Regions from separate parts of the Homo sapiens genome. Here regions 1, 2, 3, 4, 6 and 7 are each linked to region 5. The links are contacts of gene promoters, found by promoter capture Hi-C in blood cells and fetal thymus (Javierre and others, 2016). All regions are on one chromosome and are shown on one strand. The core of a region is centred on a gene start or on the middle of the fragment in contact, and the rest is flanking DNA. Distances in the headings are between cores, read along the strand shown.

What was found. The method cuts DNA at HindIII sites, captures the fragments that hold promoters and counts their contacts. A CHiCAGO score of 5 or more calls a contact.
Region 1: a fragment that was not itself captured here is called in contact with the fragment with the promoter of NDUFAF4 in region 5 in 14 of 17 cell types (naive CD4 T cells, naive CD8 T cells, activated CD4 T cells and 11 more); the score reaches 12.9 in naive CD4 T cells.
Region 2: a fragment that was not itself captured here is called in contact with the fragment with the promoter of NDUFAF4 in region 5 in 1 of 17 cell types (naive B cells); the score reaches 5.8 in naive B cells.
Region 3: a fragment that was not itself captured here is called in contact with the fragment with the promoter of NDUFAF4 in region 5 in 7 of 17 cell types (total CD8 T cells, naive CD8 T cells, total B cells and 4 more); the score reaches 8.2 in total CD8 T cells.
Region 4: a contact is called between a fragment that was not itself captured here and the fragment with the promoter of NDUFAF4 in region 5, in 1 of 17 cell types (naive CD8 T cells). The highest score is 5.4, in naive CD8 T cells.
Region 6: a contact is called between a fragment that was not itself captured here and the fragment with the promoter of NDUFAF4 in region 5, in 1 of 17 cell types (endothelial precursors). The highest score is 6.3, in endothelial precursors.
Region 7: a fragment that was not itself captured here is called in contact with the fragment with the promoter of NDUFAF4 in region 5 in 15 of 17 cell types (naive CD4 T cells, megakaryocytes, naive CD8 T cells and 12 more); the score reaches 14.1 in naive CD4 T cells.

Annotation. Positions count from the first base shown.
Region 1 is chr6:96,556,906-96,560,221 of GRCh38, reverse strand. No RefSeq gene overlaps it. Among named protein-coding and RNA genes, the nearest start is that of FHL5, 4.6 kb to the left of the region's middle. The HindIII fragment of the contact is 6,486 bases long and covers 1-3,316 here.
Region 2 is chr6:96,572,923-96,576,412 of GRCh38, reverse strand. All of the region lies in intron 1 of FHL5 (four and a half LIM domains 5), which reads right to left. Among named protein-coding and RNA genes, the nearest start is that of FHL5, 12 kb to the right of the region's middle. The HindIII fragment of the contact is 2,828 bases long and covers 260-3,087 here.
Region 3 is chr6:96,499,708-96,503,051 of GRCh38, reverse strand. All of the region lies in intron 1 of UFL1-AS1 (UFL1 antisense RNA 1), which reads left to right. Among named protein-coding and RNA genes, the nearest start is that of UFL1-AS1, 20 kb to the left of the region's middle. The HindIII fragment of the contact is 2,375 bases long and covers 808-3,182 here.
Region 4 is chr6:96,387,332-96,390,831 of GRCh38, reverse strand. All of the region lies in intron 1 of UFL1-AS1 (UFL1 antisense RNA 1), which reads left to right. Among named protein-coding and RNA genes, the nearest start is that of UFL1-AS1, 130 kb to the left of the region's middle. The HindIII fragment of the contact is 4,389 bases long and covers 1-3,500 here.
Region 5 is chr6:96,896,292-96,899,892 of GRCh38, reverse strand. NDUFAF4 (NADH:ubiquinone oxidoreductase complex assembly factor 4) reads left to right here and starts at 2,002. Exons shown (of 3, transcript NM_014165.4): 1 at 2,002-2,227; 2 at 3,046-3,149. The coding sequence starts at 2,092. It also overlaps a transcript of KLHL32 not described here. RefSeq lists an enhancer at 2,080-2,179. The HindIII fragment of the contact is 8,617 bases long and covers 28-3,601 here.
Region 6 is chr6:97,402,498-97,406,153 of GRCh38, reverse strand. All of the region lies in intron 1 of LOC101927314 (a long non-coding RNA gene), which reads right to left. Among named protein-coding and RNA genes, the nearest start is that of MMS22L, 120 kb to the right of the region's middle. The HindIII fragment of the contact is 671 bases long and covers 1,650-2,320 here.
Region 7 is chr6:96,541,093-96,544,277 of GRCh38, reverse strand. UFL1 (UFM1 specific ligase 1) reads right to left here. Exons shown (of 19, transcript NM_015323.5): 12 at 1,262-1,384. Among named protein-coding and RNA genes, the nearest start is that of FHL5, 20 kb to the left of the region's middle. The HindIII fragment of the contact is 2,973 bases long and covers 307-3,185 here.

The DNA.
Region 1 (3,316 bases), core at 437-2,936, 340 kb after region 5:
CATGTTGGTTTGCTGCACCCATCAACTCATCATTTACATTAGATATTTCTCCTAATACTATCCCTCCCCCAGCCCCTCACCCTACAACAGGCCCCGGTGCGTGGTGTTCCCCTCCCTGTGTCCATGTGTTCTCATTGTTCAACTCCCATTTATCAGTAAGAACATGTGGTGTTTGGTTTTCTCTTCTTGTGTTACTTTGCTGAGAATGATGGTTTCCAGCTTCATCCATGTCCCTGCAAAGGACACAAACTCATCCTTTTTTATGGCTGCATAGTATTCCATGGTGTAGATGTGCCACATTTTCTTTATCCAGTCATTCACTGATGGACAAGCCAATAAAATATTTTTAAAGTGGCTATAACAAATAGTTGCTATGTAATAAAATACATAATGGAATAGCTCTCCTTTTTTTTCTCTCTTTTTTCAACACCAAAAGATACACTCAGCATTTAAAACATACAAATCACAGGACTGAGATTAAGACTGAAAAGAGGAAAGGAGAAAAATCTAGAACATTGACTTTAAGTACATTTACATTTATTAGGTTGTATTTAAACAACAATATGTTCTATGTGTCAAGTCTTCAAGTTCTTACCCAACTCTGAAGTCTGTATGATAGAATTAGGTTAAGGACTGCATTTTAGATGAGTAAAGACAGGCTCAGTAGTAAAACAGTTTGACAAAGCACTTTTACTTCTTTACATTGAGTAACACAAAACATGAGACAACCTTTGAGACTTTTGTCTTAGGTTGACTAGTCAGATCGCAGTTTTTCTTTGGCAGACTAGTATCTGAATAGACTATTTCAGAGCCAAGATTGGCCTGTTTCTGTGCAAGAGAAGGTGTCCATGTTCCTCTCTACTAGAGGCTGGGAAAAAAGACTCGTATACATTTTTTAGTCATTTTAATTCTCAGAAAAGGAAGACATTAATTTCACGAATAATATGTACATTTTAAAGAATTTTGGTAAATTGCCAAATTGCTTTCCAGAATGTAATTTTTTTAGAAGACAAATGTAATTACTTAATTTCCCTGGTTAGTTGAATCTTTTAAAGGCTTCCATGTTTTTGAGATAGTGGTTGAACTTTGTAGCTTAGTGTTTAAGGCATTTCAAAACCCCCCTATTCTCTCTACTTTATCTTACACTACTTCCCCAGATCAGTTATTATATTTCTCAGACTTCTTGGCTCCCCACATCTCATTATTTCATTCTAATTAGCGTCATAGTACTTCTGTACCTCCTTTTCTCTGCCTTAATATGCTCTCCTTCCCTTCTCTCATTTTCACCAAGGCTAATCCTTCTTTTTTTCTCTCTGGACTCTTGGTTCAGGTGTTATTTCCAGCCTCCCCATTGTGCAACACAGTCTAAATTTCATTTCTTGTCACAACACCCTCTGTGTACTTTTACCAAGACACTATATTTAACTGTAATTATTGACTTGTTATTTCTTTGAAAGTAAAACATACCTTTAAAGTTGATATGTGCCTTCCTAGTATTTAGCTGTCATACACGATCGAGTAAATTAGGCCAAGTCCATAAATTCACCATGTTCTCCCTTTCCTCCATTTCACCATCAATGTAATCCTGTCTTTCCTGCTCCTTAAAACAAACACCCAGATTGTCTTACTACTAATCACTTCAGAGAAATAGAGATGCAACTAGGGGCAAGTTTGATAAAACAAATAATACAACACTGGGAACTTATAAACATTGAATACATGTTTACAGTGGTTATTCCTTCTTTTTTATGATGTAAGTGTAATACAAATTGTTTTTCTGAAAGCCTGAAAGTCAGTTTCATTCTTAGAAGGTTTGAAAGAAGCCTCTCCTGGATCTATTTATTCTGTTGTACGCTTAGTAGGGTCCTCAAGATAGAGCAACTTGTGTGAATTTGCAGGTCATTTAAATAGCCACTTGAACAGTGCTCCCAGATTTGTGTGGAAAATGTACATCCCAGGGGAGTTTTGTGTGTGCATTTATTACATCTCCCATGTATTGGGGGAAATTCTTCATTGGTCTTAGTGAAAGAAAGTAAATCTTCCATCCTCTTACTCCCTCCCAACTCACATCAGTTACTTCTTGATAGAAAAAATCCCATTTGTTTCTGTGAAATGGTTTGGCTGTGCCTCCACCCAAATCTCATCTTGAATTGTAACTCCCATATTTCCCATGTGTCATGGGAGGAACCTGGTGGGAGGTGATTGAAATGTGGGGGCAGGTCTTTTCTGTGCTGTTCCTGTGATAGTGAATGAGTCTCAGGAGATCTGATGGTTTTAAAAAGGGGCGTTTCCCTGCACAAATTCTCTTGTCCACCGCCATGTGAGATGCGCTTTTCACCTTCTGCCATGATTGTGAGGCCTCCCGAGCCATGTGGAACTGTAAGTCCAATAAACCTCTTTCTTTTGTAAATTGCCCAGTCTTGAGTATGTCTTTATCAGCAGCATGAAAATGGTAAATTAGTACCAGTAGAGTTGGGTGCAGCTGAAAAGATACCTGAAAATGTGGAAGTGACTTTGGAACTGGGTAGCAGGCAGAGGTTGGAAGAGTTTGGAGGGCTCAGAAGAAGACAGGAAAATGTGGGCAAGTTTGAAACTTCCTAGAGACTTGAATAGCTTTGCCCAAAATGCTGAGAGCAATATGGACAATAAAGTCCAGGTTGAGGTGATCTCAGATGGAGATGAGGAACTTGTTGGGAACTGGAGCAAAGGTGACTCTCGTTATGTTTTAGCAAAGAAACTGGTGGCATCTCTCCCCTGCCCTAGAGATCTGTGGAACTTTGAACTTGAGAGAGATGATTTAGGGTATCTGGTGGAAGAAATTTCTAAGCAGCAAAGCATTCAAGGTGACTTGGGTGCTATTAAAGACATTCAGTTTTATAAGGGAAGCAGAGCATAAAGGTTTGGAAAATTTGCAGCCTGACAATGTGATAGAAAAGAAAAACCCATTTTCTGAGGAGAAATTCAAGCCAGCTGCAGAAACTTGCATAAGTAACAGGGAACCAAATGTTAAATCACCAAGACAATGGGGGAAAATGTCTCCATGGCGTATCAGAGATCTTCACGGCAGCCTCTCCCATCACAGGCCCAGAGGCCTAGGAGAAAATGGTTTCGTGGGCCAGGTCCACGTGCTGTGTGCAGCCTAGGGACTTGGTGCCCTGCATCCCAACCACTCTAATCATGGCTTCAGAGGGTGCAAGCCCAAGCCTTGGCAGCTTCCACGTGATGTTGAGTCTGCGAGTGCACGGAAGTCAAGAATTGAGGTTTGGAAACCTCCGCCTATATTTCAGAAGATGTATGGAAACGTCTGGATGCCCCT
Region 2 (3,490 bases), core at 424-2,923, 320 kb after region 5:
TGGTACTTTACCACCCACAGTATGCTTTATCTCTGGCTAATTGTGTTTCCTGATCAACAGAAAAGACAGGGAAGATACTATGTTTGCCAGCAGACTCCTGGTGTCTAGTTTATTACCAGCATACGCTGAAGGCTCAGTAAATATTTGCAGATGGAAGAGAGTGAGAGAAGAATGAGAGAGGTCCTGTGGAAAAGTGTGAAGGTATGCACAGGCTACTCTGGGTATTTTAGGAAGTTTCTGGAAAACTTCAGGTAAAGCTTCTTTTAGAGCTGTGCCTTGAAGGTTGAATAAAAGGTAGTCTCGAAGACAAAGTAGGTGGAGGTTCCTAAGCTGAGGGCCGTCCACACAGTTGTGGAGGTAGTGACTTAGCATGAGCAGGGGAGTGGTCTGCAAGCTCACAAGCACCACTAGAACTGGAGGGTGGTATCCATACTTGGATAACAAAAAGGTCACATATAAAACTAGTTCTTTTTACATGTCAGAGCTTTAAAAACTTAACTACACATTGCTATGGATTTATTTGGCCCACTGTTTTCTTTTTGGCCAACTAAACACCATACTGAAAAGGTAGATCTATGACGTATTCTGTTAACTAAAAGTCTCTCTTGGTATTTCAACAATTTTCACTGACATCCTAAATTTAAAACAGATCAAGAATTTTTTTTTGAGTTAAAGATCGTAAGAGAGAACTTCTCATTCCCCCTGGTTTCTGTGCTTGCCCTTTAAAGGAGTTTCTCTCTTTTGAAAGTATTCACTCATTCTATGCCACTTGAGGAGTGACTTAACTGGTAAGTAACTGGGCAAAAGGCACTTCATGTGGAGCCACATTGTTTCCCTTACTCCATTGGAAGTTGCCAAAGCATGGGCCTGTGTTCCCTCTCTGCAGTGAGTTCACTCCAACTGCTCAGTCCCAGCTCATGAGGGAGCACTGTAAGATCCAGGCTCTCTACTCCTTCTGGGAAGAAGCTCAGTTCAGGCTGGGAAGGGAAGGGCTTGGTCTCTCATGCACGTTTTGTTTTCTACTCCCGCATTAACAATAATGAGGTTGATAATAAATTGATCCATACGTGATTTATGTATCTATTTCTCATTTGCTTTAGAATTCTGAAAGGAGATATACATGATTAAGTGGAACTTTCCAATCTAAACAAATGTTACAATAAAGCTAGTTTTATTCTTGGTCTGTTTGTTGTATGTATGTGTATGTGTATTGAGAGACGGGGAGAGGAGAGGAATGAGAGAGACATACATATATTAACTTTCGTTAACCGGATGTTAAATTAGGCAGCAGGACCTATTCTCTGATGATGCTAGTTATTATAGTTTAAATGAAAATAATCTCTTGGCTCAGCTAAAAAATCAAAAGCAATAAATATGCCAACTACCTTCACTGAAATAACCATTACTTGTTATTTTAAGTGTTTTCGAAAATTTAACTTGTCACCTATTTTCTCTTTAAAGTTTATTAGCTTTTTGGATTCTGGATATTATTTTCCCAGGTGGAATTCTGATAATAACATAAATTTATTTCTACTAATCAATCTTTTTCAGATCATTTGGTATCTAAGTGAAGAATATTATAAGTGAAGTACCAGTATATATTTTAATAAGAAATTATGGTTTATAAAGTGACTTTATATATATTATTTGGAATAGTGACTCTTAACCATTTTATATTTAATAACTATTTAGCATATAATAAAAGCTATTTACCTCTTCTTAAAAATATATATGAATGCATATGTTCACAGAAATTTCTCAAACCCTGGGAAGGCAGGGTTCTTGGAATCAGGCTCTACAGTAGAGATCTGCCACTATATGTAGCTCAAGGGCCAAATCTAGCCACTGCCTGTTTTTGTATGGTCTGAAACCTAAGCATCGCTTTTACATTTTTAAATGATAAATACCAAAAGAGGAATATTTTTGACATATGAAATTTAAATATTGGTGTTCATAAGTAAAGTTTTATTGGAACACAGCCACACTCATTCATTATCATACTATCTATGGCTTATTTCCAGGTACAACAGTAGAGCTGAGTAATTTTGAAGACTAAAGTATTATCTGGCTCTTTGTAGAAAACATTTTGCTGATCCCTAATCTCAAGTTTAAAAGTACATTTTCTGCTTTTAATTGTATTTTGCTGGGTGTTTGTTAAAGTATGCTTAAGTTTAATTAGGATTTGAAAAGAACTTTCTGTACACTACTTTAAAGAATATATATTTACTAAATGGTTTTAAAAATAATACTAGAAGTCATTAACATGGTATTCGGAAGAGTATTTAATGGCATGGTGAAATGCTTATAATTCTCTAAGTGGGAAAAAAAGTGTGAAATAGAATAATCAGTATGACCTCAATTATATAATTTTTTTTTTAAGTAGAAACAAGTTTAGAAGAAAATATGCTGAAATGTTAAGGCTCTTAATTGAAGTTAAGGAGTATTTAAAATTTTACTTTTCAGTACCTTTCAAATTGTATACTGTAATCTATCACTTTGGTAATAAGGAAACATAAGAAAAATATTGAAAAAAATGGGAGTATAATTGTTTAATTTAAAAAACAATTATAGGTCAAAAATTAGAATATTTTGGGCCAGACGCGGTGGTTCATGCCTGTAATCCCAACACTCTGGGAGGCTGATGTGGGCGGATCATGAGGTCAGGAGATCGAGACCAACTTGGCTAACATGGTGAAACCCCGTCTCTACTAAAAATACAAAAAGTTAGCTGGGCGTGTTGGCGGGCACCTGTAGTCCCAGCTACTAGGGAGGCTGAGGCAGGAGAATGGCGTGAACCCGGGAGGTGGAGCTTGCAGTGAGCCGAGATTGCGCCACTGCACTCCAGCCTGGGCCTCCGTCTCAAAAAAAAAAAAAAAAAAAAAAAATTAGAATATTTTGTGATAGTGTGACTATCAAAATGTTCAAGGGAACAAATGAATAGACTGAATGTAATTACAAGACTAGAAATCATTTTTATAAATGAAATCTTAATTTAGATAGCATGACAGCTTGGTGTCGGATTTTTTTCAAATGCAAATTATACCCATGAATCTAAGGAAGTGTTGATCTTTATGTGACAAAAAAGCTTAAAGAAAATTGGAAGCATTTTAATTCTATACTAAGAGGCATTTGGTCAAAATTGATGATAGACAGTTCCTTGTCAATAGGAGCCTCTTTAGTGTTCATTAGCACAATAGAGAGTTTCATGATATAAAGAAAATTGAACACCTTGACTTTTTCAGTAGGTTTATATTGGCTTGATCTAACTGATCAATAAATGAATGAAAATATGAATGAATGAATTACATGTATGTATGACTTTTTGGTACTGTCAAAGATAATAAATAGTTTGATACCTTGATCAGGAGAACGGTTAATCTTCTTTCTAAAAGTATTAAAGGTCAGAGAGATAGCAGCAAGATAGCCAACTAGAAGCCCCTAGTGCTTATGCCTCTGTCAAAGACAGCCAGAACAATGGAAAAGCAGCTGC
Region 3 (3,344 bases), core at 746-3,245, 400 kb after region 5:
TCTTCTGACCAATTTACCAGGTGATTTATTCTTTTTTCATCTATGACTAATTTACTGTTAACCCATATATTGAGTATTTTTTCAGTAATTGCATTTTTTCATATCTAGAATTTTCATTGGATTGTTCTTTACATTTTTAGCTATCTGACAATATTTTAAATTATGTCTTTTATTTCCTTGACTATATTAACATCTATTTCTAATAACTTTATAATTTTGAATTTTCTCTTGTCTGTTTCTGATATCTGTTTTTCTCTTGGTTGTGATCATGTTGTCTTGTCTCCTTGTTATTCTAATTATTTTTTAATATAAACTACCCATTTTATACAAAGTAGTAGAGATAATTTAAGTGTGTAATATCTTCCACCAAAGAGGATTTATATATTTTTTTCTAGTAGGTGGCTAGTAATTCCAGATCACCTTGATATAATCAAGGCTTATAAAAGCCCACTTAAAAAATCATAAACACGGATTTCTAGAGTATATTTCTTTGTGGTCTCAAAGCCCCAGATGTTTGCCACTTGCCTGTCCTAGGCAGGCAATGAACTCCAATTTTTGTTCCCTTGGCACCATGAATCTGTTCAAAGTTTTGCAAAGCTCCTGATTCTCTCAGGTGCCTCTTCTGATATGAGCGTGGACAGAAAAAAAAAATGGCACCAGTTGCAGAACTCTTCTGTCTTTTTCATTTTCTCCCCTAAATATCTTGATCTTTTAATTCACCCCTGCCTCTTTAATGTTCAAATGACATAGAACAGATTTTTAAAAAAATATTTTGCAAGTATTAATAGTTGCTCTGAGCCTGAAGCTTGATCTGATTTACTTTGTTTGCAATTACTGGAAGTCAGGAGCAATTGCAAGATATTCACAGCTATAAGTTCCATTCTATTATTTTAAAATTTTTCTTCTTTTTTTAATAGATTCTTCCTCTTTTATTATGTCTTGGTTTCTTTTGTAGGTCTTCTATTTTTATTCTAAAGATAGCTACTTTATACTGTCTGGTCAATATTCGTGTTATTGGAGGTCAGAGGATATAATCGTATTGTTTACTGTGGGTTTTTAAAAAAGGAACTCTAAATGCACATATTAGTTCTATCCCTTAATTTTTTATGGCCTTAAGCAATTTGCTTGCATTTTTTAAGGCTTAATTTTCTCATCTCTCTGAAATGGAAACTGTGTTAAATATAATTTTCATAGTTAACTGTGTGACATAGTTTTTTTTAACCTGTTGTTTTAATATAAATGGTAAAGAATCTTGGATTAATTTTTTTCTACCAGAAAATGAATTAAAATTAAAATATAAATATCTTACAGGATATGAAACTTGGTATTTTGGAGCTCTCTGTAATCACAGTTATTCATTACAGCATTATCTTGACAGATAGTACACCCATCTCTACTGATAAAGAAACATGGAGATTTCTGTTTCCAGCAACATAAAAAACTAGATCACCTACTGTGAGATGTGCTATATATAATTCAACAAATTCTTTAAATTCACAAGGGAATTCCCTATTGTCTGAAAATTTTTAAAAAGAAGGAATTTGGTATGGTAAGCCAATACCAGACTTGTGACTGCATGACAGTATTTTATGATGCCAAGAGACTTGTGTTTTCATGATTCAGTAATACCTTGTGCCTACCTAAGGTGGTTTATATAGTCATTTCCTTCAAAGGGATTTTTTTTATAGAGTCTTGCTCTGTCACCAGGTTGGAGTGCAGTGGCATGATCTTGGCTCACTGCAACCTCTGACTCCCTGGTTCAAGTGATTCTCCTGCCTCAGCCTCCCAAGTAGCTGGGATTACAGGCATGCACTACCATGCCCAGCTAATTTTTGTATTTTTAGTAGAAACAGGGTTTCACCGTGTTGGCCAGGATGGTCTCAATCTCCTGACCTTGTGATCTGCCCGCCTTGGCTTCCCAAAGTGCTGGGATTACAGGCGTGTCCCACTGTGCCCGGCCCAAAGGGATATTTTCACAGTGAAAAGACAAACCAGGAAAAAAAGAAGTCTACCCACCAGCAAAGACACATGACAAAGTTATTTGTTTGTTCTTGGCCCTGACTCTAGGTAGGACAAATATAATGTATTTCTTAAGAGTTCCTAGATATAGCCCTGGCTTATATGGAATTGTTATTTGTATTTTTATACTCATAAATCTAAAAATTAATTTAATGTGATCATGAGTATTTGGCAGAAGAGAATAAAATTACTCTTTAGAAATATCTACATTTAACTCAGACTCCCTCAATATTTCCATACATTTAGATTAACTGAACTCTAAATTCCAAACTATAAAACTGATGAAACAAGATATCATGAGTGAGAAGTAGCATGAAAAACAAATAGTAGAGTTAGAAATGCTGCATGGCATTATTGTTTGCTTTACTTTGTGTTGTTTTTTAAAGACAAAATAGACTGAAGCATGATTATAGGTCAAGAGGAACACATATTTGATAAGGAAGAGCCTGGGGAATAATTGATGGGAATCTTGGAGTAGACCAGAAGAGAGAGGATCAGGAGTAGAGACTGGAGGGAGACGACCCATTCATTCCTGGAGGAAGGGAAGCTGAAATTGAAATGTTAAATTAAAAATGGACAGGAATGATCTCCGTTCCAAGATGACCGAATAAGAACAGCTCCGGTGTGCAGCTCCCAGTGTGATCGACACAGAAGACAGGTGATGTCTGCATTTCCAATGGAAGCACCTGGTTCATCTCACTGGGACTGGTTGGACAGTGGGTGCAGCCCATGGAGGGTGAGCCAAAGCAGGTTGGGGTGTCACCTCACCTGGGAGGTGCAAGGGGTCGGGGGATTCCCCTTTCATAGCCAAGGGAAGTGGTGACAGACTGTTCCTGGAAAAACTGGACACTCCCGCCCAAATACTGCACTTTTCCCATGATCTTAGCAACTGGCAGACCAGGAGATGCCCTCCTGTGCCTGGCTTGGTGGGTACCGCCCCCATGGAACCTTGCTCACTGTCAGTGCAGCAGTCTGAGATCGACCTGCAAGGCAGCAGCCTGCTGGCGGGAGGGGAGTCTGCAATTGCTGAGGCTTGACTAGGTAAACAAAGCTGCCAGGAAGTTCAAACTGGGTGGAGCCCACCACAGCTCAGTAATGCCTACTGCCTCTGTAGACTCCACATCTGTGGGCAGGGCATAGCTGAACAAAAGGCAGCAGAAGCTTCTGCAGACTTCAACGTCCCTGTCTGACAGTTCTGAAGAGAGCAGTGGTTCTCCCAGCAGGGCATTTGAGCTCTGAGAATGGACAGAGTGCCTCCTCAAGTGGGTCCCTGACCCCCGTGTAGCCTAACTGGGAGACATCTCCCAGTAGGGGCCAACAGATAC
Region 4 (3,500 bases), core at 367-2,866, 510 kb after region 5:
TACTGATTCATCACTGCGAGGTAACAAGTAGTACACAGATCTATCTTCTCACAAAGGATTTGTTATAATATGGAAGCAGAACAATTTGACATCATTATCCGAAAATCCACTGTGGAAGATGAATTCATGTGTCAAAACTGCTAAAATGGATAATGGGCATAATTGTTAATATACTAACTGTTGTGATTTTTTAGTGAGTAAATATGTAACCATTCACACATCTTTCTGTAATTTATAAGTAAAAATCTCTCCCTTTGTGACTCAGTATTGTGATCTTCCATGCTCACTATGAAAAACATAATAGAAATATGATATGATAAAATCAGAGTGCTATACTATAGTGACAAGAAAACAGGAGGTATGGATTTTAATGTGAGTTCAACCCCTAGCTAGCTCTTTTACTTTGGGCATTCCCTTAGTCTTGGTCTCAATGCCCTCTTCTGTAAAGTTGTGAGGTTTGAGTTATTCTCTGAGATACATTCTGCTGTTAAAATTCTATTATTGAATTTGAAAACCACTAAACCTTTCAGTGAGGGAAATTTGGAAAAAGAATGGTATATTTTTTTTAGCTGATAAAGTTTTTAAGTGAAAAAAGTGTTTAAACTTCTTTGTATTTGTTAATTGAGCTATTTTTTTATTTAGACATATGAGTTCAAAATTTATAGCTGTTTTTGACACTATAGTCAGTAGGTAAAAAGCAGTTTCTGGAGGCTGCCTATGCTTGAATCTAGTTTCATCATTTACTAGTTGTAAAACATGGGAAAGTTTTTAAAATGTCTTTGTGCTCAGTTTACTCCTCTGTCAATGGGGTATAATTACAGCACCCTTCTTGAAGAGATATTATGAGGAGTAAGCAAGATGATTTGCATAACTCCTTAGCAAATGATTAAAGCATTAACATATTCTTGACACACATGAGCTTTTACAATTACTCTGGTGTCACCAGCTATCCCAGGCTATTATCATTCCATACTTTATTACTGTAATTATAGCCACCTAGTTTAAAAGTCTCTTCCTTTCAAATCTATCCTATACATTTCTTCCAGCAAAGACTGCCCCAAACACAATTGTCTTCATTGCCTTCTGATAAAAACTGTTAACAACAGACTTCAGTTATTTCCATACCCAGGAGAACTGAGTATATATTGTCCTGGCATTTAAGACTCTCATTAATATTGGTTCAATTTGTCTTTCCAGCTTCATTCCATTACCTCCTCTTATATACACGCTCTAGCTGAATGGAACTATCCAAGTATCACTGAGAACTCGCACTCTGCTTTTCTGTGTTAAGCTCTTAAGGGAAGAGACAGTGATAAGTCTTTATACCCCAGTATAAAGTCCAGGACCTGGCACACAGTAAGCATTCAATATTTTTGAAGTGAACAGTCTTTGCTTGCACTGTTTTCCTCTCAGAAGTCCTCTCTTCTTATCTTTACCTACATAACACCTATCCTTCAAGGTCCCAGCTAAATATCATGAATTACCACCATTCATAGGCTACCTACTTCCTTCATAGTATTGTCATGTATTTACCTTCTAGAATTTACATTCCACTGTGATTATAATTATTTTTGTTATCTTATGCCCTCATTTTTGACTGGTGTTGAGAGCAGTGTACTATGTCTTAATCAATTTTATTTCCTACAATGCCTAGCATTTTTCTTTGACTATGTTAATTGCCAGTGACTAGTTATTGAATGAATCAATATGATTAATAGGATCCTATTTGTTAACCATTGTTTCTTGGCCATTAAAAAAACTTCAATAGAACAAAATCCTACTTCAATAGAACAAAATCTTCACCCCTTGCCAGGCTCCTTAGTCTCTCCAAGGTCCAGCCACATCCTCTCTGCCTAACATGACTTTGGGTAGCTACTGAAGCCCTACTAGCTTTTCATTATTCCATGGACATGCCATATACATTCTTAACCATGTTCCTTTGCTGATGTTTCCTTTGCTTGAGGGCAATACTGTCTTTGTTTCAGCTATCCAAGCCTGACTTAAGGTCTCATTCCATACTTTATTACTGTAATAATAGCCAACTAGTTTTAAAGTCTCTTCCTTTCAAATCTAACCTATACACTTCTTCCAGTGAAGACTGCCCCAAACACAATTGTCTTCATTTTCTTCTCCCAAATTCATCATGGAGCACTCCTCTAGACTTCCACAGTGCTTTTTCTCTTTCATCATAGGAAAGACAAATTTAGGTTCTTAGTTTAGTACTTAATCATACAATTTAATCATACACACACCCTAGAACAATGAAACAATAAAAGTAGGAGATAATTTAAAAGGGCTTTACTACAGAAATTCTAATAATGAAATTTGAAAGGGGCTAGTTCCATATTAACCCACTCTGTAATTCCTTTCCTCCTCCTCCCTGGGTTACCTCTTATATTAGCTGTGCAGACACCATTCTTGACAACCTGTTTCTAAGATATTTAAGGAACTTTGCATTCATCTGAACCTCTTCTAGCTAATAATACAATCTTACACATGGTGTTGATTATATTTTAATTCAATAAAAACATGGTTTAAATTTGTATCCTAAATTTTCATGTGTTTTTTGTTTTTATAACTCAATTAAATATCATGTCGTTGGGGGTAGAGGTCACATTTGGAACTTCCTGTGAATTTCCCATATTAGGAAGCATAATGCTGATCACACTGTAGATTTTCAATGCATGCATGAACAGCATTCATTGTTAGGTGAACCCTACTTGGCAAAATGTTCTCCTTAAATGCATTTTATAACATTTGACACGCTAACTTCATTCAATTTTTTTCTGGTCTATTGGTTCTAAGTTACTGTCATGTTTATAGTTTTTTCCTGGTCCGTTGACTTCTAATTTACTGTCATACTTACTAGACTACTCAGTAACTAAGGCAACTAAAGCTATATCTTTGGAGATTTACACAGATACAACCTAGGGTTAGGTAAACTGGTGTGATAGGATTTGCTTTCTATAGGGCATCAGTATTGTTTTTACCTTATGCCTGAAGATAAAAATGGGAAGTATGGTAAATATTTGGTGAACGGCCTACATAAAATACATTATACTACTTATTTATAAATACCATCTAATTTTATCTTCTTGATAACCCTGTATAGTTGATGATACTAAGCTGTTCTTGTAGACATGAAAACTAAAGCTATTAGGTTGATGGAAATGTGATCGTGGTTTTCCATATTACTTAAAAAAAGTGGCCAAAACCTGAATTACTTTTGCACCAGCCTAATAATAAAGAAGTAATTTACTCAAGGCTTTATCTATAAACTTGATCTCAGGCCCATCTGATTCCAAGGTCCTTAACAAATGGGGATAAGTCCATGGATCTCCAACTTCAGTATGCAAAACAATCACTCAAGGAACTTCTCAAATACATATTACTAGGATCTACTCAAAAGATTATAATTTGTTACACTTATGATGAGACCCAAGAATCTTCATTTTAACAAACACATTAAAGCATTCATTTGGGAAACTATGAGTTAAGGT
Region 5 (3,601 bases), core at 753-3,252:
TCATAATACTCCACTCAGATGGAAGCTTCATTCTAAGCAGCATCCTAGTTATACTTTCCTTGGGGATCTGACTTCAATCCTTAACATAAGCCCAACAGGAGTTCTTAAGTTCAGAGTTCCTGTTAATTTATATGTTTTGACAAGAAGAGCTGGAATTATGCATTTATGGTTCAGGTTTTATTTCCATGATTCCCAAAGGGTGACAGCCAATTGTGAGTTTCTGATGGAGTGCATCTGCCTTCTGTTTTGCAATTTGAGGGCCTGAGCAGCACTGGGCCAGGATCAGGCAAAGCAGCTGACACATGCTGGAAGCTCTTTCAATGTTGAATCCAAGCTCTATTGGAATGTGTGAATTCAAATAATTATTTCATATTGTAATCCCTACTGTCCTGACAGTCACTTCTAACATTACTTTTTCATACTGCCCGAAGTTCGGTGGAATTTCTATGAAAATGAGATTTTCACTTTTAAAATATTTTAACAGGCAGTGAGTCGAATTGCTACCATGATTAAAGCACATAGACATAATGAGGCAGATTAAAATTTCTTAGCACCCATAGAAATAGAAATACCGTGCCTAAAAAGCCCTGAATCACAAGCATGCTTAAAAGTATCAAAGATAGAAATCTTGGAGCAGCCTGCCACCTTCAGGATAACTTCCCAGTTAATGCTATCTGAGATCACTGATTTCAGCTTCTATAAATTCCAAATACCAATCCCTGTAAAAATGTTCAGTATAATTAAATAAAGGGCATTTAAATTAGAGTGGCTGAAGCCGTCTTCCTTGCAGTGCTTTTGCTCTGATTAAGCATTATACTTAATGATTACATTAGTTTTCTTTTTAAAAAACTTTCCCTTTCTTCATTTTGGTTCTTTGATTCTTGTTTTATTATTATTATTCTATTCGATTATCTTTACATCAATATTTTCTTACTTTAAGCTGGTTAAAAACATCCACTCTACTTCATTTTGCTAAGCAGAGATCAGAACACTAAAAATAGATTTTGCAGCCACAGTAAGAGAAATACTGTAACTTCCTTCCTACTGCTTCCTTCCTGGTGGGTTTTATTTTAGATTAATAACAATATTTCTAAAGGGTCTTAAATAAAAGCAGCACTACAGTAACCCATTCAGGAAATGGAGAGAGACGGAGAAGGTGAATGTAACACTCGTTTTTTTGTTTGTTTGTTTTTTTTTTCTGACGTCTTATTGTCTGTTCCTTTCATTAAATTACACAGAGGCTTAAAAAGAATGAAGAAGGCAAGAGAGAAGAGAAATAGGAGAGGGAATGACTCAGCATTTAGTAGCATGGAGAAGTAAATTAGTAGCAAAAATAAGATAAGGGAAAGTATAACTAAAATCGATACCATTAGGTCAAATGAGAACGGGATGTAAAAAATAATGGAAAAAGAATACAGTGGCTTGAAAATGCATCAGGCGGGGGGACAGGAAAATAAGAGGCATTTAAATGAGAGCGGCTGAGAACAAATACTCATCGAAAGGGAACATCCTTTCATTATTTTCCTTTCACAAAAGCAGGAAAGGGCAACTTGAGAGCCCAGTTTGACCCTGGTTCAGTAAGTTCCATTTTTATCGGCTAACTCTTTGGTGGCATTGCCCTGTGAAACAACTTCAAGGTCAACTTCCTTACGACTTTGATTTTCAGCTCTTCACTGAAACTTTGGAATCACGTGGAGTCTTATCCAATGCTGGGCCTCACTCCACAAGAATTAAATCAGAAAGTCTGGGGTAGGGCCCGGCACAGAACTTTACAGAGCTTCCCGGGTGACTCCCTCGGAGTTCCAGCGTTAAAAGCAACCGTGGGTCTGGGGACTTAAGCCCCGCCACCTCCCGCCGGAAGCGGCCCTCGTGGGAGCCGTCACTCGCCCCGAAGGGAGGGGCTCCCTTTTAAATGCCCTGGGCAGAGAAGCGGTGTGTGGCCTCCCGAGCGCTAGGGGGCGACGGGCACGCATTTAAGCGCCCGCGGCGGGGCTTCCCCTCACTTGTGCGCATGCTCCGGGTGTCCCGGAGTTGTCCTGCGCCGGTGTTCCCACGTGCGGCCTGAACCTGAGCGCATAATGTTATGAGGAGATGGGAGCACTAGTGATTCGCGGTATCAGGAATTTCAACCTAGAGAACCGAGCGGAACGGGAAATCAGCAAGATGAAGCCCTCTGTCGCTCCCAGACACCCCTCTACCAACAGCCTCCTGCGAGAGCAGATTAGTCGTGAGTGGTGCGAGGGCGTTTCGGGGCCCGGGGGCGCGGAGTCCCTGTGCTGCCCGGCTGTCCCTAGCGTGGGTCCGGAGGCCGAGGGATCGGCGTCAGCCTGCTCGGCCGCAGCCGCTCGGGTTGGCGGAGCGTTGGAAGGGGGAGCCGCCAGGCCGGTGACATTGAGACTGTCCTCCGCGCCCGCGGTGAGGTCGGCGGCCCCGCCTACTTCCGAGACCCAGAGGCAGCAGCCAGTGCTCCCGCTAACCAGGCCCTCGCCGGCTGCTGTCACGGACTTGATACAGGGAATCAAAATCCGAGAGGGTCACAGAGCTTTCTCTAGGGGTCTTCACTGGACGATGGACGCAGAGCCTGACCTGGAATTTTGATTTCCATCTAAAGTATTTTCCTAACAGTCCAAATGATTATGTTTATTTTTTAAAAAAATTAAAGTGGTTAGGCCGGGCGCGGTAGCTCAAGCCTGTAATCTCAGCACTTTGGGAGGCCGAGGCGGGCAGATCACCTGAGGTCAGGAGTTCGAGACCAGCCTGGCCAACATGGCTAAACCCCGTCTCTACAAACAATGCAAAAATTAGCCGGGCGTGGTGGCGCGCCTGTAGCCTCAGCTTGTCGGGAGGCTGAGGTGGGAGAATCTCTCGAACCCGGGAGGCGGAGGTTGCAGGGAGCCGAGATCGCGCGACTGCACTCCAGTCTGGGCAACAGAGCGAGACTCCGACTCAAAAAAGAAAATAAAAGAAAGCGTTTGTGTTAAGCGTTTAGGATATTACAGGAAATTTTCCTTGATTTTAATATTGTGACTTTTTTCCTTTCCTTAGTCTATCCAGAAGTTAAAGGAGAGATTGCTCGTAAAGATGAAAAGCTGCTGTCGTTTCTAAAAGATGTGTATGTTGATTCCAAAGATCCTGTGTCTTCCTTGCAGGTAAATGTGTGTTTAATTAAGTGAATACACAATTTACTTATTTTGGGGCTTCAGGAAAATGATTAAGTGTGGCAAGTAGTAAAAAGAGTGCTCTGCAAGTGTGTGTTGTGATCAATCTACACGCCTTGGCAAAGTTTAAGCACACTGGTGTAAGACAGCAAGACACTTATGCCTTGGTTCACTGGATATTTACCAGAATTCTAAAATAACTTGTGGAAGTATTGATACAAGCAACTGTGTGAATTATTTCATAGTATTTCAGAATTTGTAGGATTTGGTAAGGCATTACTTCCAGTGGTTGTCATTTGAGTGACAAAAGCAGAGCTTTAATATTATTTTCTCATTCTTCTGTGGATTGAGGTATGTTCTAATCTCAGAGACTCCTTTAGTAAGTGGTGTTGTTGGATTTTGTGGGGTGTTCCTGTTTGTTTTTTTAAGGATGTATTCAGATA
Region 6 (3,656 bases), core at 736-3,235, 510 kb before region 5:
ACTATGCCCGAATAATGCAGATTCCTACTTGTACCTAATCAAGTGATTTTTCCAGTTTTTTTTTTTTTGTTTTTTCTATGCTTGTATTCAGTCTATAAAAGATCACTGCTGACACTACTGGGCAGAGCTCACTGAACCACTTCTGGTTCTAAGTGCTGCCTGATTCACGAATTATCCTTTGCTCAAATAAACCCTGTTAACTTTTTCTCTAAAGTTTTTCTTTTAACAAACTAAATGTACCTACAAGTATTTATTTCGCCACATACTAAAAAACTTTACTTTAAAACAATAATTGAATAAAATTTGTAAAACATTTTAAACACAATTTTCATTGTTATGCAGAACATTTAATATCTGGAACTGGGGCAAAGCAAGGTTTATCTTTCACGATTGTTTTTAAATTGATGTTTAAATTGTTTTTAAATTCATGTTTTAAATTCATGTTTTTAAATTGTTTCATGATGTTTAAATTATTTTTAAATTCAACAATTTAAAAACAACCCTACAGATTCAGAATGTGGAGTCATTCACGATTTAACAAAAGCAGGGACCTGATCTCTCTTGGACAGGCAAGAGCAAGCTATTTGAATAGCACGTAAGCCTGGGTCTCCATCACACTCAGCGTCCTATTTTGTTGCTTTCAGCCTATAATTTCAAGCACAGTAATGCTCTTGAGGGATTGATTTCTTCTTTTCTTTTTTTTCTTAGCTTTGGTTTTTGTATAAAATCAGAAAAGTTTATCAGAAAAGGTTAACTGCTAGCAAATATAATAAAATGAAAATAAAAATTCTTAAGTGATTGTTGTCTAAAAATACAAGCATAGAATAAATTAAAGTGTAGAATGTAGAAGTCCACAACTCAATCACTTGAGCACTGGCAAATCCACCAAAAGTGAATGTTCTAATAGTGAAAAATTAATTCACCTATCAATGGACAGAACTTCAGTGAAAGTTGAAAGCATGGTTAACCTGCGTGTATGACTATTTGCAGGAATTATGACCCTCAGAAAAATGTGAAGTGCCAAAGAAAGCCTGCACTTGCCCAGTGGTGAAGAGTTGTCAAAGACTCTATTACCATGGACAAAGTTTTGTAAAAGGATTTTAAGAAGTTTTTTTTTCTTTGTGCATGATATCAAGGCAATGAGGGAAAGCAGATTAGCTGCTGAGCAAAGTATTTTCTTCAGAGTTGAAGAGATACTAAAGGAAAAGGACAATAAGTGCTCAGCGAGACCCAAGCCAGCTTATACTGAAGAATACACCTCTGGGAACCAATGCATCTCAAAAGGAACTGTGAACATTAGAGTGGTGGAGAAAGATGGTCCTTCTGCACTGTGGCCATGCTGCAGGCCTGGTGATTAAGTCAGGCTTTTGCTATCCTTTAAACCCCAGGACATTGAAGGGCAAACAGAAGGACCTCTCACACATGAACTGGCAGTTCAATAAAAAGTGTTGGGTCACAGCACAACACTTTTTCAGAATGATTTCTTAAGGGCTGTGAGCCAAAAGTGGAACAATATCTCCCTTTACTGAACATCAATTAAAGATTGTGCTCATGAAAGATATTGCAGAGGGCCAGATACGGTATCTGAGTTTGCACATTTAAGTTGAGGTTGTGCTGCTTATTTCCATAGTAGACAGTATTGGTAAGCTTTAATAAATTATTTAATTCCTTTATTTGTAGAATCACTAAGGTTTTATTTAACTTTTTAGAATTCTCTATTAGAATGTATATGGAGTAATAGATATATAATATGTAATACATATTTAAAATATTTGCCTAATGTAACAGATATATCCCTTATATATGAAAATATTCCATGTTACCTTGGAAAAGTACTATCTTACTGTGTACTAGTCTAAATAATGCTAACCTCATATACAAGGCCATTTGTTGTTTTTTTATAACTAAATATTTCCAAAAATCTGTTTAAGTTCTTCTAAGTAAATATCTCCTTACAACATTATTTCAACCACTAATTTGCTTAAACAAGTTCTCTCTTTAGAAAATATGGAGGAAAACAGTATCCTTTTCTTAAACTGAAATATCCAAAATATTTGGAAGTTTGGAAGTTTTCCAGCCTGGCCAACATGGTGAAACCTCGTCTCAACCAAAAAAAGAAAAAAAAACAAACAAAAATTAGCCATGCATGCTGTTGCATGCCTGTAGGCCTGCAACCTCAGGGGCCTGAGGTGGGAGGGCCACCTGAGCCCTGGGAGGTCAAGGCTGAAGTGAGCCATGATCGCATCACTGCACTCCAGCCTGGGCAGCAGAGTGAGACCCTGTTTCAAAATAATAATAATAATAAACTTTTAATAAAGCTTTTTACTGAAGATGTTATAATATTACAGTTAATCCTTGAACAACACAGGTTTGAACAATACAGGCCCACTTACATGCTGGTGTTTTTCAATAAATATACTGAAAGAATTTTGGGAGATTTGCAACAATTTGAAAAAGCTCACAGATGAACCAGGTAGCCCATATATATTTAAAAATTTAAGAAAAAATTAGGAATGTCATAAATATATAAAATATATGTAGATACCAGTCCATTTTATCATTCACCACTTAAAGTATATACCAATCTATTATAAACATTTTAAAACTATCAAAACTTATGCACACAAACATTACAGACCATACATGGTGCCATCTGCAGTCCAGAGACATATAATAAAATACAAAAATGCAGTATTAAATCATAACTACATAAAATTAACTGTAGTACATATTGTACTACTGTAATAATTTCATAGCCAACCCCTGTTGCTATTGCAATGTGCTCAAGTGTTGCTAGTATTAGCTTAAAACGCCATGTGATGCTGATCATCTCTTAGTGAATTGATCCTCTCTCCAATAAAATGAATTTAGCAGTAAAAGGTGATTTCTCATGGTCTTTGTGTATTTTTCATCATGTTTGTTGCAATACTGTAAACCTTGAGTAATACCATGGAACCTATGCAAAGTACCACAAGTGATGCTGAAAGTTTTCCCAAGAAGCAGGGGAAAGTCATGACATTACAAGAAAAAGTGAAATTGCTTGACAAGTACCACATATTGAAGTCTGCAGCTGCAGTTGCCTGCCATTTCAAGAAAAATGAATCCAGCATGTAAAAAAAAGAAAAGGAAATTCATACATTTGTCACTGCATCTACTCCAGCAGGTGCAATAACCCTGCACTTTGTGCAAAATACTTTTTAATCTCATATCAAAAATGCAGCTTTTATGGGGTGCAGGATTGCTATAAGAAAGGCATACCTTTTATGTCTTTCTAATGTGATTCAAGAAAAAGTGAACTCATTATATGAGAATTTATAGCAAAAAGAAGATAAAGGGCCTAAAGCTGGAGAATTTAATGCCAGCAAAGGATGGTTTGATAATTTTAGAAAAAGGTTTGGCTTTAAGAAATGTCAGTGTGGCGATTCCTCAGGGATCTAGAACTAGAAATACCATTTGACACAGCAATCCCATTACTGGGTATATACCCAAAGGATTATAAATCATGCTGCTATAAAGACACATGCACACGTATGTTTATTGTGGCACTATTCACAATAGCAAAGACTTGGAACCAACCCAAATGTCCAACAATGATAGACTGGATTAAGAAAATGTGGCACATATACACCATGGAATACTATGCAGCCATAAAAAAT
Region 7 (3,185 bases), core at 544-3,043, 360 kb after region 5:
TTTCTTGGCCAAGCACTAGCAAGTCTAGGAAAAGAAAGATGCATATAATTAATGCTCTCTCTTAGATATAAGCAACCAACCAGTTAGGTGTTACTATGAAAGTAAAATGTACATAAAATTAATGTTTCCTATTTAAATTTGCAAGTCTACTTTTCAAAAATATCCTAATACTTGTTTTGCATGGCAGTGGAAGACCATAAAAATGATCATGGTAAGGTGAAACCATGCAAAGCTTTCTTAATAATCAATAGGAAAAATTACAATTGTTCTGTGGCCTTTAAAAATTTTTGGTAAACATTAAAAGCTTTTACTGTTGGTTATAAATGTATAGGAAAATGAAAAATAAAACTAATGTTTATAATTTAATATGCTGTATTTTTAACACATTAGAACATGGAGAATGAAAGTGTTTTATTTCTGTGTAAAATACTTATCAGGAATAGTCTGAACAGTGCTTGCTTTCTTCTTATTATCAATTAACTTGCAGTATGGACCAAGTACCTTTCCTATGCCTTATAAATTGTCATACCACTTTCTAACTCTGAATCAGCTTCCAATGTTTTATCCCTTGCCTTTTCAATGTCTTGGAATATCTCCAAGAATTGTGAAGTTTTTCCCCACTTTACATCCTCTAAGATGTTTTCATCCTTTTTGTCATAACCACTTTCCTCATTTTCTTGAGCAATGGCAGTGTCAACATTCCCACAGTCAGCCATTCCCTCTATAACTCCATTTATGCTTGATTCCAATTTTATTTTCAGTGTTATCACTTTTCATTTCTTTGCTACGCTTTTATCTTTGTTGGCCAATTCTCTTTTTGATTATCCATTTCTGTAAAATATCATAGCGTTTATCACTGGGAGACAATTAGGCAATACAGCTACATGCTTTGTTGTTTGTGCATAAGGAATAACCAATGTGCAGTGACCAATCATTGACAAACTATACAATAAGTGGTGTGATTGTCACAGATCATGATATGCATCTGTTATTTATGTACTGATTTGTGGACTGAAGAGCTACTTTATACTATACTCAGTTAATATACCGAAGTATCTTTGTATCTAATATTTAAGATAAACAGTGTTGTTACTGGACTGATAACATTTAACTAAAGTGTGGTAACTGAAATTTGTGTCACTGAAACACTGCAAAATAAGGACTTCCTGTATTAGCATATATACCTAATTATATACATCTTAAGAAAATATGTTACAAATATCACACATACACCAAGGAAAAGTAAAGAAAAGCTACCTACCAGTGTGGGATGATTGAGATTCATCATCACTATCATCATCTTTTCTTCCTTTCTTCTTGACTTTTTTAATTTTGTACTCTCTGGCATTGCCCCCACCTCCTCCTCTCATGCTTCCACTGCCCTCTGGTGGGAAAATGACATTAGTTAGCATTACCTAACTAAATCATCATTTTTATAAAATAATGACACTATATTGTTGTATTTAACTTTACAGCAGAAAAAATAAAGGCAAAATAAAGAAACTTTTAGACTCTTTTTAAATTTGGAGTTCCCTATTAAAAGTTTAGTAAATCCAATACATAAAAAATTAATAATAAAATATGAAATCTTTTGAGCAATCTACCTTAGATAGCCTGACTGCTCTAAATGCATTCTCTTTCTCCTTCTCTAACGTCACCTCTTTCCTGTAACTCTCAATATTTTCTTAACAAAAATCCATTCCTTCACCTCCTCTTCTACCTTCCCCAAAAGAAATGTGTCCTCCTTTGCTCATCTGTGTTACCACAGCCTCATCAATAACCTTCTATTATAAGACTTCACAAATTTAATTATTCTTATTTTGCCTTCTTTGTTGAAAGATTATTACCTGTTTTTAGAGGAGATATCCTGACTCATCTGCTACTCAAACAGATTATAAACTTCTGAAGAGCAAGGATCATTGTGTCATTAATGTATATATTCTTTACAGAAATGCGTGAAACATAACACGTGCTTCATAAATGTTGACCATGAATATTAATTGGTTAAGTATAAAAGTATTATTACCTATTGACTATAGACTTAAAAAAACAAATTATGAAACAAATGCAAACACTGTAAATAAAAATAAAAAATACTACTTCAGCATTTCCCTGCTCTTTGATATTGACATGTAAAATATCTACTCTACAAAATGGAATACTGATAACGGGTTTAAACCATTGAACATATTACAACTATATTATATTACTTCAAAATAAGTAAAAGATTAGTCTTTTTAATAAAATAAAGTGATTACTAAAGATCTTTTTCTAAATTCTAAATAGATTTGCCTTAGATTTCATCACATCCTAGATTTAAACTTCTATTATTTTTCCCTTTCTTTTATAATAAAAAAATTCTATTTTCAAAAATATAAGTCTAAAGTGAACATGCTTTTTATATTTGACAATAAGTTTCCTATGGGGGGGAACATTCATGATTGACATGATTCCACACACTGTAATTAAACAATTATAATACAATAGCATTATCACTGAAAATAAAACACCAAATGACCCTTAACTTTTAATAAGAAATAAAATATTAAATAGACTAGTTATACTGACATAAGTCATCAATTGAGTAAGGCAAATTTATAACTATATCTTCAAATATATGATAAAATATCCATAGCTATGAATATTACTGTGATTTAAGTAATTTATTAATTTTCCTGGAAGAATAGAGAAATTTCATAATGCCATTGAAAAGTTTTAAGAAAAAGATTCTGGAAGAGGAAATAAACTATCTCAAAGAATTAGAAGTGTATTTATTAATGAAAAATGTTGAATATTGAATTTCTTCAGTTCCGATAAAGCACTAACAGCACTGTTCCTACTATAAAAACTATGGAAATACATGTTACTTTTCCATTGCAAATTACAAGCATATCAGTGATACCTAGAATAATTTCTAGTGACTTTAGATTAGAAAAAGAAATGTAAAAATATGTCCTTCAGAAATTTTTTCATTTAATTAGTATGTTTATAGGACACCTAAAATATATCAAGTGGTGCTTTGGGTATGTAGCAAGAGTACAACAATAAATGAGATCAACACAGTTCCCAAACAATAAAACACATCATGGTGATAAAGTGATGCAAATAAACTGACAAAATGAGGTGGCAGAGAGTGACTGTGGCTACTATTCCGAAGGGTTAGGAGGCCTCTCTAAGGAAGTGGC